Regions from separate parts of the Homo sapiens genome. Here regions 2, 3, 4, 5 and 6 are each linked to region 1. The links are contacts of gene promoters, found by promoter capture Hi-C in blood cells and fetal thymus (Javierre and others, 2016). All regions are on one chromosome and are shown on one strand. Each heading gives the region's core, a stretch centred on a gene start or on the middle of the fragment in contact. The rest is flanking DNA. Distances are from core to core; before and after follow the strand shown.

What was found. Contacts are between HindIII fragments. The CHiCAGO score rates a contact against its expected background, and 5 or more counts as called.
Region 2: a fragment that was not itself captured here is called in contact with the fragment with the promoter of GABRQ in region 1 in 1 of 17 cell types (endothelial precursors); the score reaches 6.8 in endothelial precursors.
Region 3: a fragment that was not itself captured here is called in contact with the fragment with the promoter of GABRQ in region 1 in 1 of 17 cell types (endothelial precursors); the score reaches 12.7 in endothelial precursors.
Region 4: a contact is called between the fragment with the promoter of GABRE here and the fragment with the promoter of GABRQ in region 1, in 1 of 17 cell types (endothelial precursors). The highest score is 6.7, in endothelial precursors.
Region 5: a fragment that was not itself captured here is called in contact with the fragment with the promoter of GABRQ in region 1 in 3 of 17 cell types (endothelial precursors, megakaryocytes and M2 macrophages); the score reaches 9.0 in endothelial precursors.
Region 6: a contact is called between a fragment that was not itself captured here and the fragment with the promoter of GABRQ in region 1, in 1 of 17 cell types (megakaryocytes). The highest score is 6.3, in megakaryocytes.

What each region holds. Positions count from the first base shown.
Region 1 is chrX:152,635,978-152,639,476 of GRCh38, reverse strand. GABRQ (gamma-aminobutyric acid type A receptor subunit theta) reads right to left here and starts at 1,582. Exons shown (of 9, transcript NM_018558.4): 1 at 1,126-1,582. The coding sequence starts at 1,274. It overlaps MAGEA3-DT (MAGEA3 divergent transcript), which reads left to right. Exons shown (of 5, transcript XR_938525.3): 4 at 3,490-3,499. The HindIII fragment of the contact is 4,664 bases long and covers 1-2,593 here.
Region 2 is chrX:151,686,479-151,690,294 of GRCh38, reverse strand. No RefSeq gene overlaps it. Among named protein-coding and RNA genes, the nearest start is that of PRRG3, 7.1 kb to the left of the region's middle. The HindIII fragment of the contact is 7,812 bases long and covers 1-3,816 here.
Region 3 is chrX:151,788,670-151,792,502 of GRCh38, reverse strand. No RefSeq gene overlaps it. Among named protein-coding and RNA genes, the nearest start is that of CNGA2, 56 kb to the right of the region's middle. The HindIII fragment of the contact is 247 bases long and covers 1,130-1,376 here.
Region 4 is chrX:151,973,042-151,976,493 of GRCh38, reverse strand. GABRE (gamma-aminobutyric acid type A receptor subunit epsilon) reads left to right here and starts at 1,818. Exons shown (of 9, transcript NM_004961.4): 1 at 1,818-1,924. The coding sequence starts at 1,869. The HindIII fragment of the contact is 4,903 bases long and covers 1-2,879 here.
Region 5 is chrX:151,770,375-151,773,890 of GRCh38, reverse strand. No RefSeq gene overlaps it. Among named protein-coding and RNA genes, the nearest start is that of CNGA2, 37 kb to the right of the region's middle. The HindIII fragment of the contact is 6,140 bases long and covers 1-3,516 here.
Region 6 is chrX:151,843,588-151,847,244 of GRCh38, reverse strand. No RefSeq gene overlaps it. Among named protein-coding and RNA genes, the nearest start is that of MAGEA4-AS1, 66 kb to the left of the region's middle. The HindIII fragment of the contact is 1,323 bases long and covers 1,549-2,871 here.

The sequences.
Region 1 (3,499 bases), core at 333-2,832:
CGGCATCACTGTGACTCTTCAAATCTTTGACGCATTGCCCAGGGAACGTCAGCCCCTGCAAATGTGTGTGTTTGTGTGTGTGTGTGTGTGTGTGTGTGCGCACGCGCATGTGTGCATGTTCAGTGGCGCAGTATGGTATGTTGGGTTAAGGGCACTGCAGGGCTGTCTGCTGGAACCTTGCCAAACACCCCCCCCCCCTTTATGAGTACATGTTAATTTCTGGCTTGCCATTTAAACATTGTTAAAAATTATTCCTAATCATCTTTAATCAAAAATTTCATTTTGCAGCATCCCAAAATGTGCACATGAATTATTCCCAAATTAAAGCAATGCATTCCCACCTGTTTCCAAGCACACATTACCCATGTGCCAACGCTCAGGATCTGTGGCCACCCCAAATACACATTTCTGTGTGATTTACATGTAAAGGCTTCAGATACTCGCACACCCAAACAAACTTAAAATCAAAAAGAGAAAAAAACCGGAGTCTTCAAATATTTTCACACGACTAAGTACAAAAGCACACCCATCCCAGACCACACGGTTCGTGTTTATTCAGACACGATCGCACTGTCTGGGCTCCGATGGGTTTGAGTTAATCATTTCTATCTGCCGCATTGGAAAGAGTCCCTCATCCCCTCAACACATGCATGCACGCGCGCGCGCCTCAGGAAATGGACTAAAATGTAGACTCAAACAGGTGTCTCTCCTGTCTATGTTTTGTGAATTGCCCGTCATCCTGTACCCTCCTCCCCAATCCCACAGGTGCCAAAGCTGGGGAAAGCTGCCGGGAACCTTAAATCCTTGGGGATGGATGGACAGATCCTGGGACGAGGGCGACCCCCGCCCCCACCCCTCGGGCTGCGGTTTAGGCACACGCAGGGCTCAGTCAAGCTCCGCAGTAACAGGTGGGCGGAAGCACAGGGCTCCATTTCAACACCCCACTCCCACCTTACCCCTTCTAGGGGCCAACAGGCAGGGCCCGGGCGCCAGGGCTCAGCGAGCCCGGGTCCGAGTACCCCCCAGCCCGAGTCGCCCCCAGCCCGCTCCGTCCAAGAGGCCAGAGGTCGTCTGCCCGTCTCCATTCCCGTCCCCGCCGTGCCTAGCCTGGCGGTGCCCGCTTACCAGTTGAAGAGGTTCAGGACGACTTCGGGCACAGCAGAGGAGAACTCGAAGTGGAATTTCGGGATGGGACTGGGGTAGTTGCCCTCCGCGAGCCAGGTCCTGATGAGCAGCAGGATCACTGCGGCTCGCAGCATGCCTCGGATGCCCATGGCCGGGGCGTTCTGGGCGCCTGAGGGCGCGGGAGACGGGGCCGCGAAAAGGAACAGAGGTGGGGTGGGAGAGTGGGTGACTACTGGGGCCGGGGAAGGCGGGATTGCTGGCCCTTCCCCAAAGAGTCGCCTCTAAGGAGAGAGCAGCGAGGGCAAGGGAAGTAGGGGGTGCGGGGGTCGGCCCGGATACCGGAGATGAGAGCCCGGGAGGAGCAACCACCCAGCAGCTCTGCTGGACGCAGCTCCCCCCAGGGCCCGCCCGGCAGCTGCGAGGTGCGCTCCGTCTGCGGCCGCTCCTGGCTGCGACTGGGCACAGATCCCAGCTCGCTGCTGGCTCCGCCCACTCCGACGGCATCGCAGGCCCAGCCAATCGGACAGCTGCCAGGAGCCGCACAAAAAGGCGCGCGCTCCTGCCTCCGCCCGTAGCCTGCGCGCCGCCCGGCCCCCGCCCCTTCAGGCTTCTGCAGTCATCCCCCGGCCATCTCCAGACACAGGCAGGGCGGGGCCGGGCTGGGGGAGGGGGAGGAGGGCTGGCTCCTTGGGGGCTGGGCCAGGAATCCGCCTCAAGGGGCACTGGGTCCTGTCTCTTCTCTGCAAAATGCGAAATGTGTGTTTTTCTTGGAAGAAAGGGCCTGTGCCCGAGAGTTGTATTTGATGGTGAAGGGAGTGTGGTAATTTGACCGCCATGGCTGAATCTGCATTCTGAAAGACTTGGACAATTTTGGGCGTCAGGAGGTACCCAACGGCTGGTGACTCCGTACCCTTGAGCCTCCAGTAACCCCGCGTGCCTTGTCTCTGGATAAGGTCAAGGAGGATCCTAATGGGTTTTGTTACAGGGCTCTGGCCACAGCAGGACTGCTCCTCCCTCAGGATGGACATTGGGCTACAGGAGCCCAAGAGTTGCTTAAGACTTAAATTTCCTAGAGTGCTCTTCACCCCAACTTTGGGTACTCAGGAAAAAGACTCAAGGAACTGGAAGGGCTCACCAACTGGGGTCTCTCTGAGATGTGGTTGTGTCTCATCAGCCAGGGGATGCAGAATGAAGGTTCATGGCTGACACCATAGAAGGGGAAAAAAAGGCCAAGGTCAGTGTTTGGGGTGTTCAAGGGAGTTAGGCACTGGAGACCAGGGTATGCCAATGTTCCTGGGTTCTGACCCCATCATATGGAAAAGCCTGACATCTTGACTAGAGGGCTCTTATTCTTTCCACTACCTCAGACTCTGCCCCTATGGGACAGAAAAATCGTGGAGGATAAGAAATGCCTCCACCCAATTTCCTATGTCCTTCCTATCCCATGACAAAGCAAGTTCAGAAAGCTTAGAAAGTGGCCTCACCAGAGCCCATAGGGCAAATGGGTAATCAACAAACAGAGCTGCCATGTTCACCGGCATGCCACCTCCCACATCACACCATTGAGAAGAGTTGAAATCAAAACGGATTTCAGGTTTACTTTTGGTTACCTAGAACATTCACTGAGAAACACAACATCTCCCCCTTTTTTTCCCCTCAGTATTTGATGAAATGAGTTGAGATTGCTGGTGCCCAGCAAAGCATGACTTACCTGGTAGGCCAAGCAGTTTTGCACAGCTGAGGGTTTAACTCTTTTACCACTCCCCCTTTAAAATCATTTTAGAACCATACTTTTATGAAAAATGTCTCTCATAGTTTCCTGCCTTCTTTTAATGAGCAGAACACCCTCACACCTTTCTTTCCCATCTCCCCTCTTTCCCTGGCCATTGCAGTAAGAAAAAAGGATGATGGGACCCATTTGTCAGGATCACATATGAGAGCAGATTAAACCCACCTCTACTGCTACCAGTCCTGTCCCATCACCTCTGGTCACACAGACGTCCTTGTAGAGAAAATCCTTGTTTGCCAAAAATGTTAGAGCCATTCCGGGGCATTTTGTCCAGCCACCTCGGTTGTAATGTAGGGAAACTGAAGCCCAGAGAAGAAAAAGGGATTGGCCCAAGGTCACACAGTAGCAGAGGCCAAAACTAAAAACCACATTTCCAGGTCTGCTTACTTCGAGAAGAGTGCGTTTTCAGTCTAAGTCAGCTTTGACTGGAAGTTCTAGCAACCACCAGCAGGTGGGAGCAGATTTGTTTGAATGTGGGATGTTCCCAGCACTGAGGAATCAAATTCCACAGGCAATTGGTCTGGTCGCTCATTTGTTAGGGGAAACAAGCCTGAAGCCTGAAATTTTGTTCTTAGGTACCCTTGT
Region 2 (3,816 bases), core at 1,305-3,804, 950 kb after region 1:
TCAATTGTTCTTGTGGATATTTAGAGTAGGTAGAGTTGGATTTCATCAGGGTTGGGGTTTTGCCAGATGAGTACAGGGATATAATGGAGGGACACAGTAGTTTTATGTGGATTCAAGGGAGAAATGATAATGATTGACCATGGATTTTAGGCTGGGTAAGGAGGGAGATAAGGACAGAATCAGGGTTTGGTGAAGGAGAGTGAAATCAACAGTAGAATCTTTGGTTTGAGGGTCCCCACAGGGGTCAGAGGACTGTCATAATACTAAAAGGAGTGAGCCGGTGGTTGGAGAGCTGGATACATGAAATGGAGGTTCTGGAGAGATGGTGGTTATAGATGTCAACCAGGTCTTAGGATGAGTGTAGAAGGAAGTGGCTGAGGTAGAGAACAGGGCAAAAGCACCACTGGAGAGTAGGTCAAGGGAGTAGGAGATCAGAGTAGAATTACCTATGCAGATATTGAAATTACCAAGAACTTTGCCATCCTCCCACCCACACACACCCTGGATCCCAACCTACACATAAGCACGTACTTATTCTTTTTACTTTTATCTCCTCTGACTGTGTGTTTTCAAATAGCCTATCTTCAAGCTCACTATTTCTTTCTTCTGCTTGATCAATTGTGCTATTAAAGAGCAATGATGCATTCTCTGGTATGCCAGTTGCATTTTTTAGCTCCAGATTTTCTGCTTGATTCTTTTAAATTATTTCAATCTCTTAAAGTCTATCTGGTAGGATTCCGAATTCCTTCTCTGTGTTATCTTGAATTTGAGTTTCCTCAAAACAGTTATTTTGAATTTTCAATCTGAAAAGTCACATATCTCTGTCCCTCTGGGATTGATCCCTGGTGCCTTATTTAGTTCATTTGGTGAAGTCATGTTTTCCTGGAAGGTCTTGATGCTTATGGATGTTAGTCAGTGTCTGGGCATTGAAGAGTTAAGTATTTATTCTAGTCTTTGCAATCTGGGCTTGTTTGTACCCACCCTTCTTGGGAAGGCTTTCCAGGTATTCAAAGGGATTTGGGTGTTATGATCTAAGTGTTTGGTTACTGCAGCCATATCTGCATCAGGGGGCACCTCAAGCCCAGTAACACTGTGGCTCTTTCAGACTTGTAAACGTACCACCTTGGTGGTCTTGGGTAAGATCCAAAAGAATTATCTGGATAACCAGGCAGAGACTCTTGTTTTCTTTCCTTAATTTCTCCCAAAGATATGAAGTCTCTCTCTCTCTTTCTCTCTCTCTCTCTCTCTGTGTGTGTGTGGGTGGGGGGGAGATATGTATCTGTGCTGAGCTGCCTGGAACTGGGGGAGAGATGACATAAGCACCCTTGTGACCACCACAATTGGGACTGCACTGGATCACACCTGAAGCCAGAATGGCACTGGTGCCTCACTCAAGGCTTGTGATAACCACTGTCTGTCTACTGCCTATGTTTGCTCAAAGCCCTAGGACTCTGCAATCAGCAGGTGGTGAAGCCAGCCAGGCTTGTATCCTTCCCTTCAGGGCAGCAAGTCCCCACTGTCCCAGGTGGGTCCAGAGATGCCATCAGAGAGCCAGGGCCTGGACTCAGAAACTTTAGGAATCTACCTGGTGCTCTATTCTACTGTGGATGAGCTGGCACCCAAGCCACAAGACAAAGTCCTTCCCATTCTTGCCTCCTCTTTCCCCAAGCAGAGGTCATGCCTTCCCCACGGCTACCACCACCCAAGGCCCACGACAAGTACAGTCTGGCTACCACTGATGTTCCTTCAAGGCCCAAGGGCTGTTTAATCATCTGATGTTGAATACTGCCAGGCCTGGGACTCTCCCTTCAGGGCAGTGGGCTCCCCTCTGGCTCAGGGCAGGTCCAGAAATGCTGTCCAACAACTAAGGCCTGAAATTGGTAATCTCATGAGCCTCCTTGGTGCTCTACCCCACTGTGGCTGAGTTGGTACATAAGCTGCAAAACAAAGTCCCCTTTACTCTTCCCTCTCCTTTTCTCAAGCAAAAGTAGTCCCTCCTCATAGTCACCACAGCTGGGGATGTTCTGGGTCACACCTGCAGCCAGCATGGTACTGTGTTTTGCCAAAGTTCTGTGGTGACTGCTGCCTGGCTGTTGTTGATGTTTATTCAAGGACCAAGGGCTATTTAGTCAGAAGCTGTTGAATTCTGCCAGGACTGGGTCCTTCCTTTCAGGGCAGTGGGTTCCCTTCTAGCCCAGGGTGGGTCTAGAAATGTTGTCCAGGAGCTATGGCCCACAGGGGCTTCAGGACTCTGCTTGGTACTTTAATTTGCTGTGGCTGAGCTGGTATACCAGTTTCAAGACAAAGTCCTCTTTACTCTTCCCTCTCCTCCTGGAGCTGCAAGCTGTGCTGCCTGAGGTTAGTGGAGGGATGACATAAGCACTCCTTAGGCCACATCAGCTGGCATCTCACTAGGTCATGTGCACTCCAAGTTCACTGATTCTGGGCCTGGTTCAGCACCAGGCCTTGCCCAGGAATTGCAGTCCTTGTGGCCTAGACTGCCTTTCAAGTTTATTTAGAACCCCAGAGCATCTTAGCCCAGAGTAGTGGGGCTTGCCAGAACTCAGGTTCTAACTGTTGGGATGGGTTATTCCCCTCTGGCTAGGGCTGGTCTAAATGCTCCTTACATAGGTGCCAGCTGAGCTGTGCCTGGTGTTGCTTTCCACTTGACAAGGCAGCACTGAGTTTCAATGTAAAATCTCACAATCACTGCACTCTCCCTCCACCAGGTTCAGAGATTCTTTCTCCATGCCAGACTATTGGCCACTGCCAGGGGATGGGAGAGAAGTGGCATTGGTGACTCAAGACTGTCTTTCCTACCCTCTTCAGTGCCTCTTTCAGTGATATCAAGTTAAAACTAGGAACAGTAATTACTCACCTGATTTTTGGTTCTTATCAAACCAGGAACTGTGATTGCTCACCTGATTTTCAGTTATTATGAAGGTGCTTCTTTTGTGTGGACAGTTGTTCAATTCAGTGTTCCTGCAGAGAGGACGATCAGTAGAGTTTTCTATTTGGCCATCTTGCTTTGCCTCTGGATTGCAGTTTTAAACTAGTTGGTCAGGGAAGGACTCACTGAGAAGTAACATTCGAGAAGCATTTAAAGGAATAAGGGTGATAGCTGCGTAGATAACTGGGAGAAGAGTATTCTTGTAAAAGGAAATGGTATGTGCAAAGGCCCTGGGACAAAAGTGTGGTTGGCATGTATGAGGCACAAGGAGTGGAGGGAAAGATTTCACACAGGCCAGAGGCAAGGCTCAACCACAGTCTGAGTCCAGTCTTGGCGGAGTGCCTGATGATCCTCCCAGGAATGTCAGAAGATGGGAAGTCCTGTGAGGAGCTGCCACAAGACCCTTTTCCACTCTCCTTTCTATTATGCAAGGCTACCATGAGGCAATTCTTCACCCACTTCCCTGGTTCTAGTGAGGGATGGGACTTTCCACCTAGCCCCCTGCTTTGATCTGAATATTTATGTCCCTCAGAAAATTCATATGTTGAAACCTGATTAACAATGTGATGTGATAGTACTAAGAGGTGGGACTTTAAGGGATGATCAGGCCATGAAAACAGAGCCATCCGAAGACAGCCCTCACCAGACACTGAATCTGCTGGTGCCTTGATCTTGGGTTTTCCAGCCCCCAGAACTGTGAGCAATAAATTTCTGCTGTGTATAAGTTACCCAGTCTAAGGTGTTTTGTTATAGCAGCCCAAATGGACTAAGACACCTCCCTCCCTACCTTAGAGTATAGTTTTTAGTATGTGGTATTGGCTCCTTAGCAACAGAGCACCCACCTCTTGTGTTGCCCATAATCTGAT
Region 3 (3,833 bases), core at 4-2,503, 850 kb after region 1:
ACAGTTTTCTGAGCAATGTAGGTGTCAGAAAATAAAAGTTTATTTGATTGATGAGATATACTCCATAGTTGGAACTTCAAGCTAGCTTGTTCCCACCAGAGCAGAATTGACTGTAGCCAACAGGAATGGTTGACCATGTCCTCTGCAGCTCAGGAAAGCAGTTCTCTATGCAGGTCTCTCCAGGACCCTAGGAAGACTAGGCTCTACCTGAGCCAGACACAGCTCTCTGCTAGAGAATTGGAGGCCCCATGAGCACTATGGAGAGAGCCTACTGATTCCTATGTTCCTCAGTTTGCCTTAAATGTTTTTTTCCTCGTTTGTGGCTTTCTTCCCCACTGTCTGGCCCACCTGTCTCCTGGTCATTCCTGAAATCTGGTACTCTATGTTCACTTTAACGCCTTGATGACCTAGCTAGCCTTCGATCTTTGCCAATTTGTCAACCATTTCTGACCTATTCCTTAGTTTGCCCCACATGCACCTCCCTCCAAAACACATAAGCAACCAAATCCCTGACAATATGCAGAGGTGGGCTTAGCTGTGTGAGTGCAGATTCTTCCATCTTGCCAATATTGGGGAGCCATTCTGTCTGGGTAGGTCAGCCCTTTACAAACCTGACAATGACTAATCTGCCAAGTAGCTGCTTCACTGTTGAAAGATTCATAGCTTTGTTCAGAAAAGGTCAGATTCATTGGTTCTAGTCAATTAGAGGATAATTTATTGTGTCTCTTCCTTCTGTGACCTCCAAGACCATACGTAGTTTATCAGCAAGGGGCCAATCTCCAAGGCAAAGTCAGGCACACTGATAATCCCCCAAAAGGCAGAAATGGGGCCAGTGAGCTACCTGAGGTTCTCTGGATTGGAAGTCTCAGCTGGGTCTTGTTTCCCACAAATCCCCATCACAAGGACGTTAAGTGGGCACCTTGTCCATCAAACAGATTTAGAATTGCCAGTATTGTACAAATGTGAGATTGTGTGGGCAGACTCTAAGAAGATGGCTATTTCCTCTCTAGTATCATCCCACAGTTAGGACGGCCACCGAGTAGTAGGTATCAGAGCCTTGGTTATGTCTTTCTGGTACAAACAGTGGGACTTTGTTGGGGAATGGCTAAATAAATGAGATTAATAAGCTTTACTACTAAATTTTAACCTAACAAGGAAAGCACTTTACTAATATGGCGAAGCAACAAGATAAACTAGAATGGCTATTTAAATGTGATACAAAACTAAAGCAAGATTTAGGGAAACACAAGCCCCTAAGAACTTTGAAGAAAAAAAAAAAACACTTACTTGATAAGCCTAAATTCATTAATTCTAGTACTTTCCCTCTCTTTCTCTTACTTAATCCACTGGTTTCTATGCCAGGTTTATACTAAGCTTCCTTCAAATTTTTGACTGTCTGCTATCTCAAGCAAAGAATCTAAGAAAGAAGAATGACTTGGCCGTATTTCCTTTGACACCACTCTCCCCTGGTCATGAGCTGCAACGTTGAAGGAATCATTCTTGTGGCTCTTTTCTAATAGCCATCTTCTGAAGTCATTAATCAGAGCTGTCATTTTCTCCTCATTATAGTGCTCCTGACTTTGTTTCCAAGGAATCTGAAAGAAGCCAAAAGAGAAATAAAGATAGCCATGTATGGGCTACTTTCCAGCATGAAACCCTGTGATTGTTTTTTCTTCAGTTAAGAGGGATTAAATGTTCCTTCTTTAAAACTAAGTCCCTTGCCCTCTAAGCCAGAGTGTATGGTATTCATAATATATGTTGGATGATCCCTTAGAAATTACCACTCCCTAAACTTTTTTTCTGTTAGGATTTGGACTTGGGAAACTGAATAATGCCAGAATGGAATGTTTAAAAGAATATTCCAAGACCATAATTAGATTTCTAAACAAGCATACATAAATGTTTTTCCACATGTGCTGTGAAATCAGACCCAGCGTCAGAGTCCTCCACTGTAGCTCTACTCTAGTTCCTTGTAGGAAATGCCCAACTGTGGCTTTTTCCATGGGGCAGGAATAGGGTTCCAGGGACATGAGAGTTGCTTCATCTACAGCCTCTGAGATGGGAAAGACTCATTTAAGTCTGATTGGAAGATAGGCATCCATTGTGGTTTATAAAATTTTTTTAGATAAAAACTAGGAAGAAGGCTTTGGAGACAAGAAATTGTCACTCTGGGAAATGGGAGAGTTCAAAGAAATAGGAAAAGTGTGATGAGCTTTTCCATCCGGGATAGTAGAGAAATTCTGAGGCATGGGATTATGGGCACTATCACAAAGGAAGTTAAGGAAAAGTGAGGAGATGAAAACCAGACAAAAAGGGTTGTATAGGAGGCCTTTGAAAGATTCCAGAATATCTCCCAGAAGTCCTCAGTACAAAAAGCCTGTTACTTCTTTAGGACAGGAGAAATGAAATTGGGAGCCAGGAAGACTCACATGTCATTGTCCAAACGAAGGAGAGGAGCACAAAAGGGAAAGAGGAGTGGAGTGCAAGCTGACAATGGCCATAGAGCCAATGGAAAGGAAGTGAGGGGAGTTCTGGGAAGAAGGCCAGTCACAAGGACACACCTGGAGAGTTTCACAGAACCCAGAGGTCCCTATTAGCCCTTTGTCCATCTCTGTCTATAGACTTATCTGAGACCCTGTGAGTCCTTGCAATCACACCTGCCATTTCTACCATGACCAGTCTGGGACTCAGCTTCCAACAGGGCCTCTGCCCACTTTGGACTGGCGTGGATTTTCCTAAAATGCCTATCTCTGCCCCACTCTTTCCCCTAATCAGCCTCTGTCTGGCCAGACATCTACACCTAGAAACCTAGATCTTCAGCCCAGTCCCAGAGAAGCCTGTATTCCATTTCAGCCCCTATCCTGCATCCCTGCTGCTAACTTTGCCGTTTGGGGTTTCTTGCCTGCCTCAGCCACTCATCTAGCTTCTGGTCTTAGCTGATCCACTCTGAGGAACCTTGCAGGTGAGTCCTCTTCCACACTACATGACCAACCATCTCAGGAATGACTCTGAATGCCCAGAAGTTTGGTATCTGCTAGCATTCCTTCTTTCATCGCTCTCTGTTTCCAGCCTTCCACTGCTACCTCTCCTGGTCAAGTCTAAGCAGAGACTGCCTGGTCCCAGAATCTCAGTGTGTCACTCCTGGCCTGTGGTTTGGCCTTGGCTGTTAGCTCTGTGACTCATGGCAATGACCGCTGGCTGAACCCCCTCACTGATTATTCGCAGCAATTGGAGCAGGCCTCCAGTTCCTGGAGGCCTTCCCTTGTATAGGTCCCAGCCCAAACATCGGTGTGCAGACCACTGTCTTCCCCTTGGATGTTCTTCCCGTTTTCCAGTCGGCCCATATGGCAGTGACAATGGAGGGCCCTAGAGAAGACTTTACTTCCTCTTTCATGTGGAGGTTACAGAAAACAAATTATCCAAGTTCTTGATTCATAGGACCAAAGTCTGATGGCATATCATGAATGAAACTAAGGAGGCTTGAGAATTCTGTCCGTCTCAAGCATCACCAGAGAGTTCTCTGACTGAACTTGTATTGCCCCAGGAGCACTCAGATAGCCAGAGGTTATTACCAGCAAAAAAGATCAAAAAGGGCCTTTCCATAAATGGCATTAGTGTGTTTGGATATTGGAGCTAAGGACAGCTAACAACCTCCTGATGCTGTGACTTTGGTGGCCAAAGTATTCACGTGAATAATTAGAATTATAATACCACCTCCCAAATCCCAGGCTTACCTAGAAATCAACATCCCAGATCATCATTGTCTAATAGTGACTACCATATTGGACAGTGCAGATATAGAACATTAAGCCTTTCCCCAAAGGGAGTTTCTG
Region 4 (3,452 bases), core at 569-3,068, 660 kb after region 1:
CCCAGGCTGGCTACAGTAAGGGCAGACATGCTCCTTTCCATAGCAGTCTGGTGTTGGACAGGACGGCAGGCGGATGGACTGGCAGCCTTCTCTTCCTCATGGCCTCAGCAAAGCCGCGTGTTTGCCTGTTCCCTGCTCTGCGGCATTTCTGCCCAGGGCAAAACTGGCTATATAATTTGCAGGGCCCAGGAAAAAAGAAAAATGCAGGTCCACTTGTTCAAAAATTATTAAAAATTTCAGCAGCAAAGCATGAAAGAAAGTATGGGGCTCTTCCCGGTGTGTGTCGGGGGGCGGGGGTGAGGGGCTGTGCAAGCCTAAACATGTCCTGCAGTCTCTTCTGTCTTGCACCGTAGTCTGAAGGCAGCCCCAGGTCCTAGTGGACTAACTCAGTGGTAGTAGGACACACACAGCTGCACACAAATCAGTGACACATTTGGTTGAGTGCCTATTGTGTACCCAGAGCTCTGCTAAGTCTTAGGGATACAGTGGAGACCCCAACAGACACATTTTGTGTGTATGCATGTGTGTGTTTGTCCCTGAGCTTACTTCAGTAGGAGAGACCCACTGTAAACAAGCTCATAAAAAATGCCCAAGATAATCATCAATGAGTGAGCAGTGTTGTGAAGAGGACAAAGCAGAGTGATGTGCTTGGGAGGTGGGGTGGTGAAGAGGGTGTTGTAGGTGAGTGTGGTAGAGCTAAGCCTCTTCAAGGATGCACACAGCCCCTTCTGGAGCAACAGGTGAGGATGCTGCCAGCGTCTGGCATCAGCTTGGTACACAAATCTTTGCCATTCCTTCTCCTTCTGAAGCAAATCAGAAGGGTCTAGGGAAAGAAGATGAAGTCCAAGTATGCTTGAGACTCTTGACGTGTCTCCCCTGAAGTGGGGCACTGCCCCTTCCCCTTCCCCCTCTGTGCCTTCTCGTGTCTTCTTCTGCTATCACCTGGTGCCAAGTCTCCAGAAAGATTCGGCCATCCAGTCTCAAGGAGGTTTCCAAAGCCTCCTCTATTCCAGTTGGTCCCTCTCACACTCAGCTTCTGGGGCCAAAGCGGGAGCCACATTGTGGCAGTGCCCCCTTGGGGTTCAGAGAAAATTCTCCAGTGAATGTCTCCGCCTGGTCCTCTGTTGGCGGGTCCTCCCTGCCCCCAAATACCTGGGAATTTGCCCTGTGGAATACCTCACATCAGAGCTTGCTGGGGAGACCCCTGTCTCTCTTCTTCTCGGTGCCAAGGAAGGTGCTGAGTTACCCGGCTTCCTTCATACGACAAGACTTGTATTCCGAAGGACTGAAGATTGTGGGCTGAGAGCTGGGAAAACCAGAGAGGGAGGTTGAAGCCAGGACACTTGGGGAAGCAATGGGGTGCAACAGGTGGCGGGGAGGAAGCCACGGCTGGAGAGCACAGTTTGACCCCGCGGCGTGCCAGCGGGCAGGAGGGGGTCGCCTCTGGGGCGTGAGCACATCCAGCCCCACATCTTGTCCCTGAAGCAGCTCCCTGCCGGCCACAGCCTGGGGCGCGAGTTTCCCCCGCCCAGGCCCCGCGCCGCGGGCTCGCCGCCTCCTCCCTCCGCCTCCCCCGCCCCTGGCTGTCTGGCAGCGCCGCAGTGGCGGCGTGGGGACGGGGGGCCTCAGCAACCGGGCTCCCGCCTCCTTCCCGCGCCCGCGCGAGCCTCCCCGGCTCCCCACCGCAGCAGCCGTCACGTCGTCGGAGATTTCCATCGGGGCGGGCCTGGGGCGGGGAGCGCGGGACGGGGCGGGGCGAGTGGGAGGAGTGAAAGTTGGAGCCCAGCAAAAGCCTCCGCCCCGCGCTCAGTGCGGCCAGAGCGTGAGCCGCGACCTCCGCGCAGGTGGTCGCGCCGGTCTCCGCGGAAATGTTGTCCAAAGTTCTTCCAGTCCTCCTAGGCATCTTATTGATCCTCCAGTCGAGGTGAGTCTCCATCCCGGGACCCGGGAGCCCTTCGCGCCCAGCTCCCTCTCCCCGGGAGCCGGGACGGCTCCCGGGACCCCAGCGGCCCCGCGTTCCTCGAGCCCCGCGCCCGCTTTGCCCCGGCCCTACCGCGGGCTGGCCGAGTCCCGCGTCCCCTCGATGCGCGCCGGCCTCGGCCCGCCTCACTGTAGGATGGGCTCCCGGGGTCCTTGAGGGGGAGCTCCAAAAGGAAGACAGGACGCCAGAAGGAAGACGGGACTCCAGTTCGCGGATTCCCGCTCTCAGAAGCACTGCGGTGGCCTGGTGACAAGCACTCCTCGGAGTCTTGCGCAGGAACAGGGGAGCGGCCCCGGGGTGACCGGCCAGGGCAGGCTTCAGCTACTGGGGGGGCCGGAGGTGCATTTTGAGAAGGGGGTGCGCGGGCTGAGGGAGCTTAGCTGCGCCAAAAATGTGTGAGTGTTGCCTCGTGTGTTCTCTGCTGCTCACATTTTTTTTAAGAGTGCCTACTGAGTTCCAGGCACTGCGCCAGGCAACTCTGACATTACTTGCTTCCCATGCCGCTGCTCCTGTTGGTGCCAGTCTCAGGCACGAGCTTTGGTTTAGTCTAAGGGTTCCCGCACCAGCTATGCCCCCTCTCCACCGCTGACAGCCTCCCACTTCCTTAACTCATCCCTAGACACCCTGCTGGGCCTTGGGCAGACTGGAGCCAGAGGCCAGGAATATTATTCTCCTCTGAAGTCTGTGGTTTGGGCCGTAGATTTCAATCCCCTTCTCCCCTTTCAGGTTTCCCTTGAACAACCATCTTCCCTCACACCTTCTCCTCGCCCTGAGACTTGGCTAGGAGGGTCGTGCCCTGGATTTGTGGCTTTTTGGGGTGGAAGATGACTGCTTCGTTTTGTTGTTGTTGTTTTGAGATGGTTCCTGCTGTGTGTGAAGTGTCACAAATTTGCAAGCTTCCTGATCTGTGGAGCTTTCTCGAAGATTCCATGGCACTGGGCTTGTGTCTTGTTTGTCTGTTCTGGGGAGGGAGGGTGGCTTCTCTCCCTACCCCAGATTGCGTTAGCTCATCAGAGAAGGGGATGTGTAGCTGCTTGCTGGCTCACTGGTGCCCTGGAGTGGGGCTAGCCTCAGCAGGAGCTTGATAAATGTCTTTCTATGCGTGCTAGCAATTTCCAGTCATCCACATCCCTCAAAATGGGATGTGGACTAGTTGAGAAAGCTGACGTGGTGACTGGCTAGGGCAAAAGATGGCTCTGGGGTGGGGGAAATAAGAAGGGGTGGTCAGAGAGGAAAACAGCAGGGAAAAGGGACTGGGGAAATGGAAACTGCCCTTCAAGCATAGCAACCTGTGGTGTCAGGAAAGAGCTGAGGAGGTGACAATGGGGTGTACTGGGCCACACTGAACCAGAAGACCTCTCCCTGGTCCAGGCTTAGCCTCAAATTAGTTGTGTGACTTGGGGCACAGTCCTTCCTCTATCTGGGCCTCAGTTTGTCCATCTGTAGAATGAAAAAAAAGATCTGATTTAGA
Region 5 (3,516 bases), core at 199-2,698, 870 kb after region 1:
ACCTGATTGGCTCCATGACTCATACCCCACCCAGTTTGTTTTGTCTCAAATAATCCCACGGAAAGCCATTAAATCATCTGAACATTTATTGGTGGCCATTCTCTTATCCTTTGTCAACAGGAGACTTGGGAGTCCTTTAGGAAGACCCTGAAAACCCAGGTATGTGATCTTGGGTGTGGGGAGGCCCTGGTGGTAAAGGTGGTCGCGATGGCACTGGTAAGAATGGAGGGTTGGCTGCAGCCATACTTACTAAGGCCAATAGGGGGACCTCCGCCCTGTCCCTGGCCTGATGCCCTGCCCAGCCCCTTTGCCTGCTTGCTTTCTGCCTGCCTTCTTTTTAAATGCGGCCCAGCACAGTGCAGAACCCTGAAGCAGTAAGAGCTTTTCATGGTGATCATAAAGGCACCATTGTTATCATCTTCTTTCATTATTTATTTGGCCATGATAAAGGCAGCCCCATTAACACAGACTACGAATCTCACCTTTCCTCTGTCTACAGTTATCACTGTGCTTGCAGCTCAGGCTACAGATTAAATATCTATCATCACTATGATAAATGGCCTCTGCAGTAGGGGCAGAAATGCGAATCCACCTTCGAGCAGCTGGTGGCAGCTAATCCAGCCAGGGCATCCCAGTATAGGGACCCCAGCCATGGAGAAATCAGCTTTGCCTTTGTGGCGATGTGCCCAAGCTCACCTGTGGCTCATCAGTTCCACAGGTCAGCTCAGGAGAAAGGATGCCAGGGAAGTTTGTTGTTACCCTGGGCTAGCCAGTAGCTCTAGGAGAGCAACCTCCCACAACTCCTCTCTTGTTATCCCCATACCAAAATTGAGACCCCGACTACAAGAGACAAAAGACTGGGCTTGCAACCTGGGCGAGGCAATGGCTAGCAAATGAAAAATATGTGGTAAGGAGTTGTGGCTGACTCTAACCCAGACCCCTGTTAGGTGGAAGGGAGCAGCACAGAACCCTGTGGGAAGGGGGACTGACATGCAGGCTTCATATTTGTGCATTCCTCTAGTGTCCCTGGGAAACAAATCCATCTCTACCACAGTGGATGAATTTGCCAGTCGATTTGTGAGTGCGGGGGCTTATGCTGTGGCTCGACAGCTCCATCCCAAAGTGCCTGTTGTGGCTCTTCTGCTTCAGGAGGGACCCCAGGCTGCCTCCAAAATTTTTGCTGCTCTGAAAGAGAAGAGACAAACACAGGGTTCTGAAGCCTTTGGGACCTCATTCTTTTCCATACTAATTGGCAAGTTTATCTCTAAGGCTTTTGCAGCATTGTAATCTGGCTATTCTCACCTTTGGTGAATCACACCTCCTTGAGGGAGGGATCCTTGATGTTTCTGCTGCCTGTGGTGCCACCAAATGCCACTACAATTCTGGCAACAGGCAGGAAGGAGATGCAGCAAACACCACAGTCTGAATGATGCTTAGGCTATGGCTCAGTGCCAGGCACAATGTTGAGCATGGTTCCCTTGGGGCTTTACGACCTTCTCAGGCTGGGTCAGCTCTACTGAACATGACCTCCACCTCCAGGACAAGGGGCTAGTAGCAGAGGGACAGCACTCTGCAAAAGGCTTCTCTGCTTCCAGTGTGCATCTTAATGAATGCATACCTCAGGAATCATCTGTGGCTGCAGGAAGCCCTCGAACCCTGAAGCCCCTTGTTGATAGGGCCTGGGTCTTCTTCAGTTCTTAGGAATGGCTTGTCAGTGAATGAATGAGTGAATGAATGACCAACTTAAAAAGTAAATGAGCAGGAGTGTAAGAAAAAGGCTTCTCAAACCCTGAGGTCTCCAGCTGCAGAATCCTTGACACCTGCTCCTCCAGTCACCTGGAAATGCTTCTTCGTACTCACAGCTAGAATGCCTTTGTGAAGTCCATTGTGTTATTGGGAGCAGGGAGCACAGAAGACACATTTTTATGTTGACAAAACCCACCCCTCAGGCAGCCAATTGTTTCCTCCAACTTGCATCCTGATGATTCATCTTAGGGTTTCCTTCTAGGGCCCAGGAGTTGGCAAGCTGTGGGTCCTCCTCCACAGGACAGACTTTCAGAGACCTCAAGAGGATGGCCATGCTCCACCAGGAATCCGCTCTTCTCCACGCTGAACAGTTCTTTCACATTTTTCTCCTCTCCATCCATCTAGTAGTTTTTTTCTGCATATGCCAGGTTTTACCCAGCCCAGTTCAAGTGTGGGGCCCAAAACTGAGCTCAAGTCTGTGAATATTGTCTGATCAGAGGGGAGTCATTATTTCCTTCATTCTACACTGTACAGCCAACTACTGTGGCAGCTAGTTCTGTGGTCACATTGCACTGTAGGCCCCTTTGGAACTTTATGGTTAACCAAACGAGGTATTTCTCTTCTGAGTTTCTTCAGGGCCTGAGTTCTTTAATCAGGGTCATACAATTTATTTTTAAAACATAATGACTTTTTAAATGACTCTTTCAGAAGTCATCGTGTTGAGTTGGGCTAGGGTGTTATAGCTAGTTCCATCCTTTTCTCCAAACCTTGGAGCATTGGCAAGTTTGGCACAACTGCCTTATACGCCTGTACCTGAATCACTTCTGTAAATGTGAGAATGATCAAGATCAAGATCAGAGTTCTGAGACATGTCACATTAGACCTGTATGCCACGTTGAACACCAACTTTTTTTTCCAACTTTTATTTTAAGTTCAAGGGTACATGTGCAGGATGTGCAGGTTTGTTACATAGGTAAATGTTTGCCATGGTGGTTTGCCGCACAGATCATCTCGTTACCCAGGCATTTAGCCCAGCTTCCATTAGCTATTCTTCCTGATGCTTTCCCTCCCCCCACCCCTCCCCACCCTCTGACAGGCCTCAGTGTGTGTCCATGTGTTCTCATCATTCAGCTTTCACTTATAAGTGGCACCACACATTATTTGGTTTTCTGTTCCTGTGTTAGTTTGCTGAGGATGATGGCCTCCAGCTCCATCCATGTCCCTGCAAAAGACATGATAGAGTTTCTTTTTATGGCTGCATAGTATTCCATGGTGTATATGTACCACATTTTCTTTATCCAGTCTATTATTTATGGGCATTTCAGTTGATACCATGTCTTTGCTATTGCAAATAGTGCTACAATGAATATACGCATGCATGTATCTTTATAATAGAATGATTTATATTCCTTTAGGTATATACCCAGTAATGGGGTTACTGGGTCAAATGGTATTTCTGCCTCTAGATCTTTGAGGAATCACCACACTGTCTTCCACAATGGTTGAACTAATTTACACTCCCACCAACAGTGTAGAAGCATTCCTTTTTCTCCACAACCTCACCAGTAGTTGTTGTTTTTTGACTTTTTAGTAATAGCTATTCTGACTGGTGTGACATGGTACCTCATTGTGGGTTTTATTAGCATTTCTCTAATGTTCAGTGATGTTTAGCTTTTTTACAGGTTTGTTGGCCACAAGTATATCTTCTTTTGAGAAGTGTCTGTTCATGACCTTTGTCCACTTTTTAATGGTTTTTTTTTTGTTGTAAAT
Region 6 (3,657 bases), core at 961-3,460, 790 kb after region 1:
AAAAATCAAGATATAAAGCATTCCCATTGGCCCCTTTGGAATAAATCTTACTCCAACCTTTGGCAGCTATTTATCTCCTTTCTGTAACTGTGGAGTAGTTATAATTTTTCTAGAATTTCACACAAATGGAATCAAAGAGTAAGTATTCTTGTGTTTGGCTTATTTCACTCAATATAATGTTGATTGATCTAGTTGTTGCTAGTGACAGCAGTTCATTTCTTCATATTGCTGAGTATTATTCTACATTCTAGATACACTAAAATTTTTATTCATGCACCAGCTGATGGACAGTTAGGTCACCTCTAGTTTTTGCTATAATAAATAATGCCTCTATAAATATTCACAAACAAGCTTTTGTGTGGATATGTTTCTATTTTTTGAGTAAATTATTAGAATTGGAATTGCTTCACATAGGGTACACAGTATATTAATGCACTATTTTCTTTAAATCTATTGACATTTTCCTGGACATGAGGGTTGTTTCTAGTTTTTGGCTCTTGTGAATAAAATTGCTATTAACATTTATGTGGGCATATGTTTTGATTCACTATGGTAAATACCTACAAGTAAAATTGCTATCTTGTATGATAAATGTATGCTAAATGTTATTGGACCATGGCAAACTGGTTTTCCAAAATGCCTGTGCAATTTACATTTTCACTCGTAATACATGAAAGTTCTAGTTAGTCCACATTCTCAACAGCACTTGGTGTGTTCTGTCTTGGTATTGTGTGTCTTATTATTTAAAACTTTATTAATTCTTTTGTCTGTTTAGTGGTATCTTGTTATTTTAATTTGCATTTCCCTAATGACTAATGACAATGAAAATCTTTTCAAGTACTTATAGATTATTCATATATCTTCTTTTGTGAAGTTTATTATTCAAATCTTTTGCCCATTTATAATTTATTTGTTTTTCTTCATATTACAGAATTTTAAGAGTTCTTTATAGACTCAACATACAGGTCCTGCATCAAATATATGATTTGTGAATATAACCCCTGACTCTGGCCTGTCCTTTTATTTTCTAAACATAAATGTCTTCTGAAAAGCAGAAGGTTTTAATTCCGGTGAAGTACAAATTATTGTTTTCGTATGGTTTAGGTTTTCTGTGTCTTAGTTAAGAAAGCTTTGCCTACTTAGTGTTAAAAAATTTTTCTCCTATGTTTCCTCAAAAGTTTCATGATTTCAGCTTTTATGTTTAGGTCTATTATCCACATCGAGTTAATATCTGTGACTTGCATGAGAAAAGAATCAAGATTTATTTTTGGATATCCAGTTGTTCTGACACCATTTCTTGAAAGAAAATATTTTCCCAATTGAGTTACATTGGCATCTTAGTCAAACATCAGCTTATCTATTTTTGAGTTCTCTATTCTGTTCCATTGATCTATGCATCTATCCTTTCACCAGTCCACAATAACTTGATTACTGTAGCTTTATGGTAAGTCTTAAAATTAGATGGTGTAAGTCCTCCAACTGTGTTCTTCTTGTTCAAGATTAACATATTAAAAATCTTTTGAACATATATATATATGTGATTAAGCTTGTTAGATTTTATTAAAAAGGTTTTGCTAGAGTTTTAATTTCCCTTTTACTTTCTTCATCGACCCATTGGTTTCAAGAGCACGTTGTTTAATTTTCATCTATTTGTAAAGTTTCCAAAATTTCTCCTGTTATCAGTTTCTAGTTTTATACTATTGTGGTCAGAATAGATATTTGGGGCCAGACACAGTGGCTCAGGTCTGTGATCCCAGTGATATGGGAGGCCAAGGTGGAAGGATTGTTTGAGGCCAGGAGTTTGAGACCATCCTGGTCAACATAGTGAGACCCCATCTGTACAAATAATTTTAAAAATTAGCCAGGTGTGATGGCACATACCTGCAGTCCTCACTACTCGAGAATATCACTTGAGCCCAGGAATTCAAGGCTACTTTGAGTTATAATCATGCTAGGTGACAGAGCAAGACCCTCTTTCTAAAATAAAAAAGATACTTAAAATGATTTTGATCTTCTTAAGTTTATTAAGACTTGTTTTGTGGCCTAATATATTATCTTTCCTATAGAATGTTCCATGTGCAGTTGAGAAGATTGTATATAATGTAGCTGTTTGATGGCATGTTCTATAAATGTCTGTTAGGTCCATTTAATCTAGAGAGCAGTTTAAAGCTGATGTTTCTTTGTTAATTTTCTGTCTGAATGATCTGTCTGTTCCTGTAAGTGGGGTATTGAAGTCCTCTACTCTTATTGTATTGGATAGTCAATGTTTCTCTTCAGATCTATTAATACCTGCTTGATATATTTAGGTACTCCAATGTTGGGTGCATATGTGTTTATGATTGTTGTATTATCTTGCTGAATTGACCCCTTTATCTTTATATAATCTTTGTTTATTTTTACAGTTTTTGACTTGAAGTCTATTTTATCTGAGTATAGCTACTTCTGCTCTCTTTTGGTTTCCATTTGCATGGAATATATTTTCCATTCCTTTTCTTTCAGTCTTGAGTGTCCTTAACAGTGAAATGAGCATATAAACCAGAATATAGCTGGGGTTTTTTTTTGTTTGTTTGTTTGTTTGTTTTATCCATTCCAGCCATTCTGTGTCTTGAATTTACATTCAAGGTGATTATTAGTAGGTAAGGAATTATTGCTATCATTTTGTTATTTTTTTTTCTAGTTGTTTTGTAGATCTTTTCTTCCTCTCTTACTATCTACCTTTGTGGTTAAGTGAATTTCTTTAATAGTATATTTTGGGTTTTTGCATTTTATTTTTATTGTATCTATTATAACTTTTTGCTTTGTGGCTACACTAAGTGTTACAAAAATATCTCATGATATAACAGGTTATTTTAAGCTGGTAACAAGTAAGCTTTTATAGTCATAAAAAACTACATTTTAATGACACTCTCTACTTCACATTTTAAATTTTTGACAGCATCATTCACATCTTTTGTATTGCATATCCCTTAACAAATTGTTATAATTATCCTTATTGTTTTTAATAGTTTTGTTTTTAACCTTCATACTAAAGATTTGACTGATTTATACACCATCGTTACAGTATTAGAGTATTGTGAAGCTGACTGTACTTACTTTCACCAGTGAGTTTTATACTTTAAAATGCTTCAGTGTTAGTCATTACTGCCCTTTGCTTTCAGCCTGAAAACTGAAGAACTCTCTTTAGCATTTCTTTTAAGACAGATTTGGCGGTGATGAACTCCCTCAGCTTCTGTTTGTCTGGCAAAATATTTCTCTCTCCTTTAGTTCTGAAGGATAGCTTTGCTGGATAAAGTATTCTTGATTGGCAGGCCTTTTTCTTCCTTCAACACTTCATGTATATCATCCCACTCTCCTCTGGCTTATACAGTTTCTGCTGAAAAATATTGAGACTTGTTTTATGGCCGAGATTATGGTTTATTTTGGTTAATGCTCTGTGTAAATGTGAAAAATCTGTCAATAGTTGTTGGATAGTGTTCACAATTCTATATCCTTTCTGTCTGTGTACTTCTATCAGTTGCCGAATGAGACATATTAACATATTCAACTATATCTATTCTCCCTCCCCTTCTGTCAATTTTTGCTTCACATACTTTGAGGCTCTATTATTAGTTGTATTATATCTTGTTGATTAGTTGACAATGTTATTATAGGGAATGT